2 separate regions of the Homo sapiens genome follow, and region 1 is linked to region 2. Evidence: promoter capture Hi-C in human tissues and cell types (Jung and others, 2019). All regions are on one chromosome and are shown on one strand. Each heading gives the region's core, a stretch centred on a gene start or on the middle of the fragment in contact. The rest is flanking DNA. Distances are from core to core; before and after follow the strand shown. Region 1 overlaps FERRY3 (FERRY endosomal RAB5 effector complex subunit 3). Region 2 holds the start of DYRK4 (dual specificity tyrosine phosphorylation regulated kinase 4).

Region 1 (4,083 bases), core at 1,527-4,026, 43 kb after region 2:
CACTCTTGCCATTGTATATTCTGTCAGTTTGGACAAATGTATAGGACGTGTATCTGCTATTATAGTACCATACAGAGTAGTTTTGTTACTCAAAAATCCTCTGTGCTCTGCCAATTTATCTATTTTTAAATGGTTTCTATCTTGCCTAAGATACCTTTGCCTAATGGAAGATCACAAAGATTTTATCCTGTGTTTTTTCTTCTAGAAGTTTTATTGTTTTAGGTTTCACATATAGGTCATGATATATATTGTTTCACACAGATATATGTATATGACATATATCCACCAACCTATATATTTATGCATGTATGTTGGTCTATAGTTTGTTTGTTTGTTTGTTTTTCTTACAACGTCTTCATTTGGTTTTGGTGTCAGGTTAATGGGGGCATTGTAAAATGAGTTGATCTGTGGTCATCGGTCTGATACGATGTTTTGATTTCTAGAATTTCCAATTGTTTTCGCTCTTTGCTAAAATTCCTTGTGTGTTGTCTACCTTTCCACTAGATCTTTTAACATGTTGGTTATAGTTTTTTGAAAGTCCCTTTCTTTTCGTCCCAATATCTGGATCCTTTCTAAATCTGTTTCTGTTGATTGCTTTATCTCGACAGTGGGTTGGGTTTTTTTCTTGCTTTTCTGGTTGTCTCTTCTTTTTTCTTCTCCTCCCCGGCCCCGAGACAGAGTCTTTCTCTGTCTCCCAGGCTGGAGTACAATGCCTACAATGCCGCGATCTTGGCTCATTGCAACCTCCACCTCCTGCGTTCAAGCAATTCTCCTGCCTCAGCCTCCTAAGTAGCTGGGATTACAGGCGTATGCCACCACACCTGGCTAATTTTTGTATTTTTAGTAGAGACAGTGTTTCACCATGTTGGCCAGGCTGGTCTTGAACTCCTGATCTCGTGATTCGCCCACCTCGGCCTCCCAAAGTGCTGGGATTACAGGCATGAGCCACCGCACCCAGCCTATTTTTCTTCTTTTCTTTTTTTTAACTGATTACTGGATATTGTGGGTATTAGAAGAGACTGAGGTTAATAGTATTTATGTCCAGAAATGAACAATATTAATGTGAAGGTTGTGTACATCTTATCAGCAGTTGAGGTAGGTTTGGTTTCCTTTTTTTTCCCCTTTGCGTTAGACTTTATTTATTAGCTTATTCACTGGAACAATGCTTGGAGAAATCTGAAAATGCATGGCAAGTTTGTTAGAGATCTTGCTTTCATATAATTTGTAGACTTTATGGCTTTATTTTTAAAAAACTTTTAATTTTTTTATTTCAGTAGGTTTTTGGGGAATAGGTGGTGTTTGGTTACACAAATAAGTTCTTGAGTGGTGATTCTAAGATTTTGGTGCATCCATCACCCGAGCAATGTACACTGTACCCAATGTGTAGTCTTTTACCCCACTTTTATCCCAGCTTGGTTTCGTGTCTGTCAGTACCTTCAATGTACCACCGGCTTCATTTTCTACTGGTGCTACTTTGTGCTTAGAACGGCACTTGGGGGTCCAGGAGGATTTTTCTCTGTCTCTCTGCTCCATCCCTTGCTTTCAGCAGCCTTCGCATGCCAGAGCTGCAGAGTGGAGTCTGCCTCCATACTTTTGCTCTGCCTCCCAGCAGTAGGCTTGTTACTTGTTACTTGAATCTAGGCTCATAGTTGGGGGTCCGGAAGGTCACTTTGTTCAACTCTTCTCCATCTTTGTTGTCTTTGTCCACTCCCGGTTTGGTCAAGCCTCGTGTATCTTGATTCTCAGCATTTCTGCCTGTGCCCTTGAGAAGGCTCTCTTGTCTCCTGCCCTCAGTGTTTTCTGGAAATACCTGATGGAGGCCAGTGGAAAAGAGTTTGCAAGTTCATGTGCCTGTGGCTCCGACCTATTCTAACTTGATATGCTAGCCCACTTGGCCTTCAAGAATCTGTTAAAATTTTAGCTGCTTTCTTTTTACCCCCTTGTATGACAGCATCCTATTTCAGCTATGCTGTAACAAAGATGAAACTCCTTATGTGTCCTGTCTGTCCTTGGAGGTATATGTCACGGTTTGGAATTCAGTTTACTAGGTTGCCTTATGATCACAAATCTTTGATGGACTCCAGAAAAGTATGATTTTGTAGATCAGCAGTCCTCTGAGCCTTTTTGGCACCGAGGACCAGTTTCACAGAAGACAGTTTTTTCCAGGAGAGCTGGAGAGGGTTTGGGGATGAAACTGTTCCACAAGGAGCACACAACCTCGATCGCTTGCATGCGCAGTTCACAATACAGTTCACGCTCCTATGAGAACCTAATGCTGCCGCTGAGCGGATGGGAGGTGGAGCTCAGGTGGTAATGCTCACTCGCCTGCTGCTCACTTCCTGCTGTGCGGCCCGGTTCCTAACAGGCCTGTACGGGGAATTGGGGTCCCCTGCTGTAGATTATCTGGCTAGATTTAAATTTACCGTATTTACTAATGAAGTCAGTCATTGAGTCTAATGGGGCTGTTGGGATTAGCCCCAAAAATTTAGTCAGGGAAATGGATGACTCGTACAGACTTGTATCATCCTCAGCATATACCACTGTTGGAATTGAACGGTGATACGGTTATTGCTCTTTTGTGGAAGTCTTCTCAGGAACTATAAAGAGGAGAGCAAAAAGAAAGGCAGTTTAGTGGGAGGAGAATGTTGGAGGTAAAAAAGAAAACAAACAAGAAATGGTAAAAGTAAAGGGTGTGTATACATCAAAATGAACTTCATCTTTTTTATTATCTACTTTATTTGACTTTAAATTTTTATTGCTATCACTTCATCTATTTTCTGATTTTGCCTAGGGCTAGCCCTGGTATAGGATGTATTATATATTTTAAAATACAATGTGATTTTAAAGTAATAAGTTAATCGCTTCATTTAATCATTCTCTTAGGCTGCTAAAAGTGTTAAATGGCAATATATTAATTGACATTATAATGATTGAAAATAATAATCTGCTTTATTTATTGTGAGGAAATGAAAGAACAAGTGGGAATTTTAGAACCTGTTGGTGCTTACCTGTCTTACTTGTCACCATGGATTAAGGATGAGTTTAGGAAAAAATTAAGCAAGACTTTCAGCTGTTCAGTTTTCTCTCATTATAAAGCTTTCCTTTAAGAAAAGTTTTTGACAAACATAAAAGTATATCAATAATTTTATTACTTTTAGTGAGGAAATTAAAGTTCAGCCAAGTCAGTTCAGAGAATCTGTAGAAGCAATTGGAAGGATTTATGAGGAACAGAGAAAGTTAGAAGAAAGTTTTACCATTCACTTAGGTAAGTGTGTTAATTTTTTTGCAGTTATAATTTATTGTAACTTCTGAAACTATTTTTTAATTATTATTTTTTTAAAATAATAGAGAAAAGGTTTCGCTATGTTGCCCAGGCTGGTCTTGAACCCCTGGGCTCAAGCAATCCACCCACCTTGGCCTCCCAAAGTGCTAGGATTACAGGCATGAGTCACCGTGCCTGACCGCTGCAACTTTTTTTATATGCTGTAAGAGAAAAATTCCTAACATGTGAGTAGAGTGTACCTATGTTATTTTTAATTCCAAATTATGTTTTACTTTAAGAAAGACTATATTTTATTGGCTTTAAGTTTTGTATATTTATATAATGTTTTTTGCAGATAGATTAAACTGAAAAAGTCATTAAAATGGGAAGTTGCAAGGCCCATTTTTAATTATTTTGTGGTACAGATTTATCTGGATTCTTGCCATAGAGATTTGCATCTTGTTATACTGGACTTTCTGTAGCTGCTTAAGTATCTTTCCTGGACTATTGCCTACCCCCAGGAGCCCAGTTGAAGACCATGCATAATTTGAGATTGCTGAGAGCAGATATGCTGGACTTCTGTAAGCATAAAAGAAATCATCGAAGTGGTGTGAAACTTCATCGGCTCCAAACAGCTCTGTCACTTTATTCTACATCTCTCTGTGGCCTGGTTTTACTAGTAGATAATCGAATTAATTCATATAGTGGTATTAAAAGAGGTAAGTTAACATCATACACATTTATTTTGTTAAATTTCATCCTGTAACACCATTCTTACAAAGAAAGGAATTACAGGGAAAATGAAAAAAAATTTTAATCAC
Region 2 (3,760 bases), core at 1,006-3,505:
TAGCTTGATCTTTATGCCCTGGGGGCTGTCTTTGGGGCAGAAAGTATGGCAGTGCAGGGTTTGCAGGGATTCCGTTTGCATTCTGTGAACAGGTGATAATGTTTTTAATGAACTTAAGTTACATTCATTTTTTAATTGATATATAATAGATGTATATTTATATTTATATAATATATAATCAAGTCAGGGCTTCAAATTATTCTCTACTAGCTATTTTGAAATATACAATAGATTATTGTTTACTATTGTCATTCTACTGATTTATTAAACACTAGGTCTTATTTCTTCTATCTAAATGTATTTTAAGTCACACTCATTTCTGCCAGAGAATTCCTTGGACCCTCTGCATATATCCCTGAGACTCTTGAGGGTTCACTGACTCCCAGACTCTAAAGAGCTAGAAGAGGTTTTGGAGACCATGTCATCCATTTTCCCACCCTGGGGAAGAATCCTCTTTCTATGGTATTCCTGGCAATCACTCTGTCTATGCTGGAATATTTCTATGACAGAGTGCACTGTTTTTCTAGGCAACCCATTTCACACTCAACTGTTAATTTACATAGGGTTGGTACTTGATATTTCTTGGAAGAATAAACTATATTGAGCAAAATTTCCTCCACTGATCCTTGCTATCCTCTGCAGAGTACCAAGGAACAAATCTATCTCTTTTCTACTCAAGAGTTCTTGAATGTTCAAAAGTTGAGTAGAAAAAAGCTTTCTCTCCCTTGCATCTCCTCATCTCCAGGCATTCTGTGAAGTTTTTTCAAACCTCTCTTCATGTGATGGCACACCCAGGCCTGACAGAGAGAGCCTGCCTTGTGGTTGTTCCTATTTTCCAGTTCTTTGTGATCTCAAAGTAGCTACAGTTTCTAGAGTCTGGATTATGTTCTACTCATTGCTAAGTCAGGCAGCACGACCATATTCTTTGATGTGGTCATTGCATTTCTATGAATGCAGCCTCCACCAGCATTTGCTCTTTGGGGAGCCATCACAACACACTCACGATGGGCTTAGAGTCAGCTAAAACCACTAAATCCCAGCACTGGGTCCTCCACACGCTTGAGGACTATGCATTCTAGCCAAGTTGCAGGCAACAATATGTGGAGTTGGAGAGGGCAAAGTCAGGGAAGAGTGGCTGGCATATTGCTAGAGAGTCCCTTCCGATTTACCTCTGCTTTCTCCATAAGGACCAAAACAAACAAGAGAAACAACAGATTTAAGTAACAGAAACAATAAGGTAGAGTGCATGTTTGAAGAATTTCTTCGAACTCCTAGGTTTTACATACCGACCACATGTAGGTGATCAAATCGCTCAAGCAAGACAAAGGACATTTTCATTTGTTGTTTCCACGGTTTGAACTTTTCCACTAAATGGCCTCCTGCTTTTGCCGAGTCTCCACTTAAGCCTGGACAGTGAAGCTTGAATTAATATTGGTGATGCTGTCCGTTGCTTAAGACATGTCAGAGGGGTCACGGTTTTCCTAAGCTTTGAGGGGCTGCTGGACATTTCAAATGCAGCAAATGTCACAGAATAGCCTTTAAAAACCCTCAAATTGTGCATTGTTCATCTCTTTTTTAAGGAAAGATTTGCTAATATTGGGAATTTCCTGAGTGGCAGCTCTGGGTGTGTGATCTACACACACCTTCGCGCGCTTTTGTGTCAGGGGCTGGGCCCTGGTTGAGCACAGAGGTGCCCGGGCATATGGGCTGGGTGGGAACATGAGTAATGCCTGCCAGAGCCTCATCCACGCGAGGCGTGTGGTCGTGGACCCACTTACGACTACCAAGAGGACATGCAGTAAAGAAGAGAAAGAAAGGGAGGAAGAAAGTCTGGCGTCCCAGTGAGGGCTGGAAGCACAGTTCCAGGATAGGTCTGCTGAGTTCCTCAGAACCCCTCGCTCCCTGTCCTGCACTCAGCTGGAGTCGCCGATGCGACAGCATCTTAACATGGAAGTATACTGACGTCGGATTCCGGGGATGCAGCTGCTGCAAAAACTACAACTGTATTTTCTTGTCCGCGCACCACAGCCCGCCTCTCTCTGACCCACATTCCCCGGTCAGCTCTTGCATTCTGCACGCTTTTCATTCTCCCCCCACGACCCCGTCGACCAGAAGCTTCGTCGCCTGCCTCGTACTCGCGCCTGACTGCTCGTGAAGTACGAGCCTCCGCGGCCCTTACTTTGTTCCGGTGCGGATAGGCGGCGGGAGGAGCTGCATGAGGCCGGCGCTGACCGCCCGCCGCTGCGGGAGGCTGTGAGAGCCCGGCAGAGGGCAAGGGACGGCCACGCCCTCCTCCCGTCGCTATAGAAACGGCTCCCGCCCTTTTTATGACTCCAGAGCTGGAAGGGCTTTCTCAGGCTGTGGTCCCAAACCACCTTGCAGAGTAGCAGCCTGAAGAACATACTCCTCGTCCTCCTACTCGCATTCTCTTGCCCCAGTTCTTTAAAGTATAGGGCAAGAATTGAACAAAATCCCAGCATAAAGAACTTAAAGTTGGTTGCCCAGACCGGACACATGAAATTATCCCTACTCTCTCCCCTTCTTCAAGCGAAGCATGTGGTTATCAGAATTACATCACAGAAGTTCTGGCCGGGCGCGGTGGTTTTACACCTGCAATCCCAGCACTTTGGGAGGCCTAGGCAGACCACTTGAGGTCTGGAGTTCGAGACCAAACTGCTCAAAGTAGTGAGACCCCCCCGCCCCTGTCTCTATTTAGACATTTTTTTCTGTAATCCCAGCACTTTGAGAGGCCAAGGCGGGTGGATCACGAGGCCAAGAGATCAAGACCATCCTGGCCAACATGGTGAAACCCCGTCTCTACTAAAAATACAAAAATAAGCGGGGCGTGGTGGTGCGTGCCTGTAGTCCCAGCTACTTGGGAGGCTGAGGCAGGAGAATCGCTGGAACCCGGGAGGCGGAGGTTGCAGTGAGCCGAGATCGCGCCACTGCACTCCAGCCTGGCGACAGAACGAGACTGCATCTCAAAAAAAAAAAAAAAAAAGAAAAAAAGAAAAAGAAAAAGAAAAAAAGTAAGTACATAGCAAAAGTTCTGGGTAAAATCCATATATCAGCTGAACACTTTTTGAGTGCTTACTCTGCACCAGATTGTAGAAAGCATGAAAAGGGAAATTTGTAATTGAGTGGCAGTAGGTTGACCTGGAGGTGCACAGTCTGGTCCAGGCAGAAAAGACATTCAAATGAAGCTTTCTGAAAGAGCTGAGTTGAATCTGAGTCTTCAAGGACAGGCAGTAGTTGTCTACGTAAAGGAGGCAAGTCCTATTCTGAAGGCCAGAGCCATAGAAAAGCTTGGTACCATTGTGCCAGCACCCAGTTTAGTGGGGCAGGGATCAAAGTTGCACGTGGGCAGAGACAAGGTTGAAGCAGCAGGAAAGGGGGAGTCAGACACCAAGTAGGCTATGAACTCGACCAGGGTAAGGTGTGTATGTGCAGACTGCAGAGGGGTGTTCATGCTGACTTTATTTTATAAAACCCTCTGTGGCAATAACAATGGAAGTAGGCCCGAGTAGGTTAAGAATCAAGGCAAGGATGCCTGTTAGAAATAGTGAGTGATGATGTTTCAGAGTAAGGGAGAGCACATGGAAGAGTAGTTTTGAGAAATTTAGGAAATGGAGTAAGACTTGGTGACTGGATGTGAAAGTCGAGAGAAGACTCAATCCCAGGATGACACCTTTGGCACCTGCAGTGATGGTGGTGCCATTCATTTACCAACAGAAAACACAGGAGAGATGTCAGGGGTAGG

The links. The method cuts DNA at HindIII sites, captures the fragments that hold promoters and counts their contacts. A contact is called where the count stands out against the background at its distance.
Region 1: a contact is called between a fragment that was not itself captured here and the fragment with the promoter of DYRK4 in region 2, in 1 of the 25 tissues and cell types used here (mesenchymal stem cells).

What each region holds. Positions count from the first base shown.
Region 1 is chr12:4,517,956-4,522,038 of GRCh38, reverse strand. FERRY3 (FERRY endosomal RAB5 effector complex subunit 3) reads left to right here. Exons shown (of 14, transcript NM_020374.4): 7 at 3,159-3,265; 8 at 3,784-3,981. Among named protein-coding and RNA genes, the nearest start is that of FERRY3, 18 kb to the left of the region's middle. The HindIII fragment of the contact is 4,640 bases long and covers 457-4,083 here.
Region 2 is chr12:4,560,703-4,564,462 of GRCh38, reverse strand. It overlaps DYRK4 (dual specificity tyrosine phosphorylation regulated kinase 4), which reads right to left and starts at 2,255. Exons shown (of 15, transcript NM_001394779.1): 1 at 2,180-2,255. The coding sequence starts at 2,217. RefSeq lists a silencer at 2,126-2,420. The HindIII fragment of the contact is 2,169 bases long and covers 1,802-3,760 here.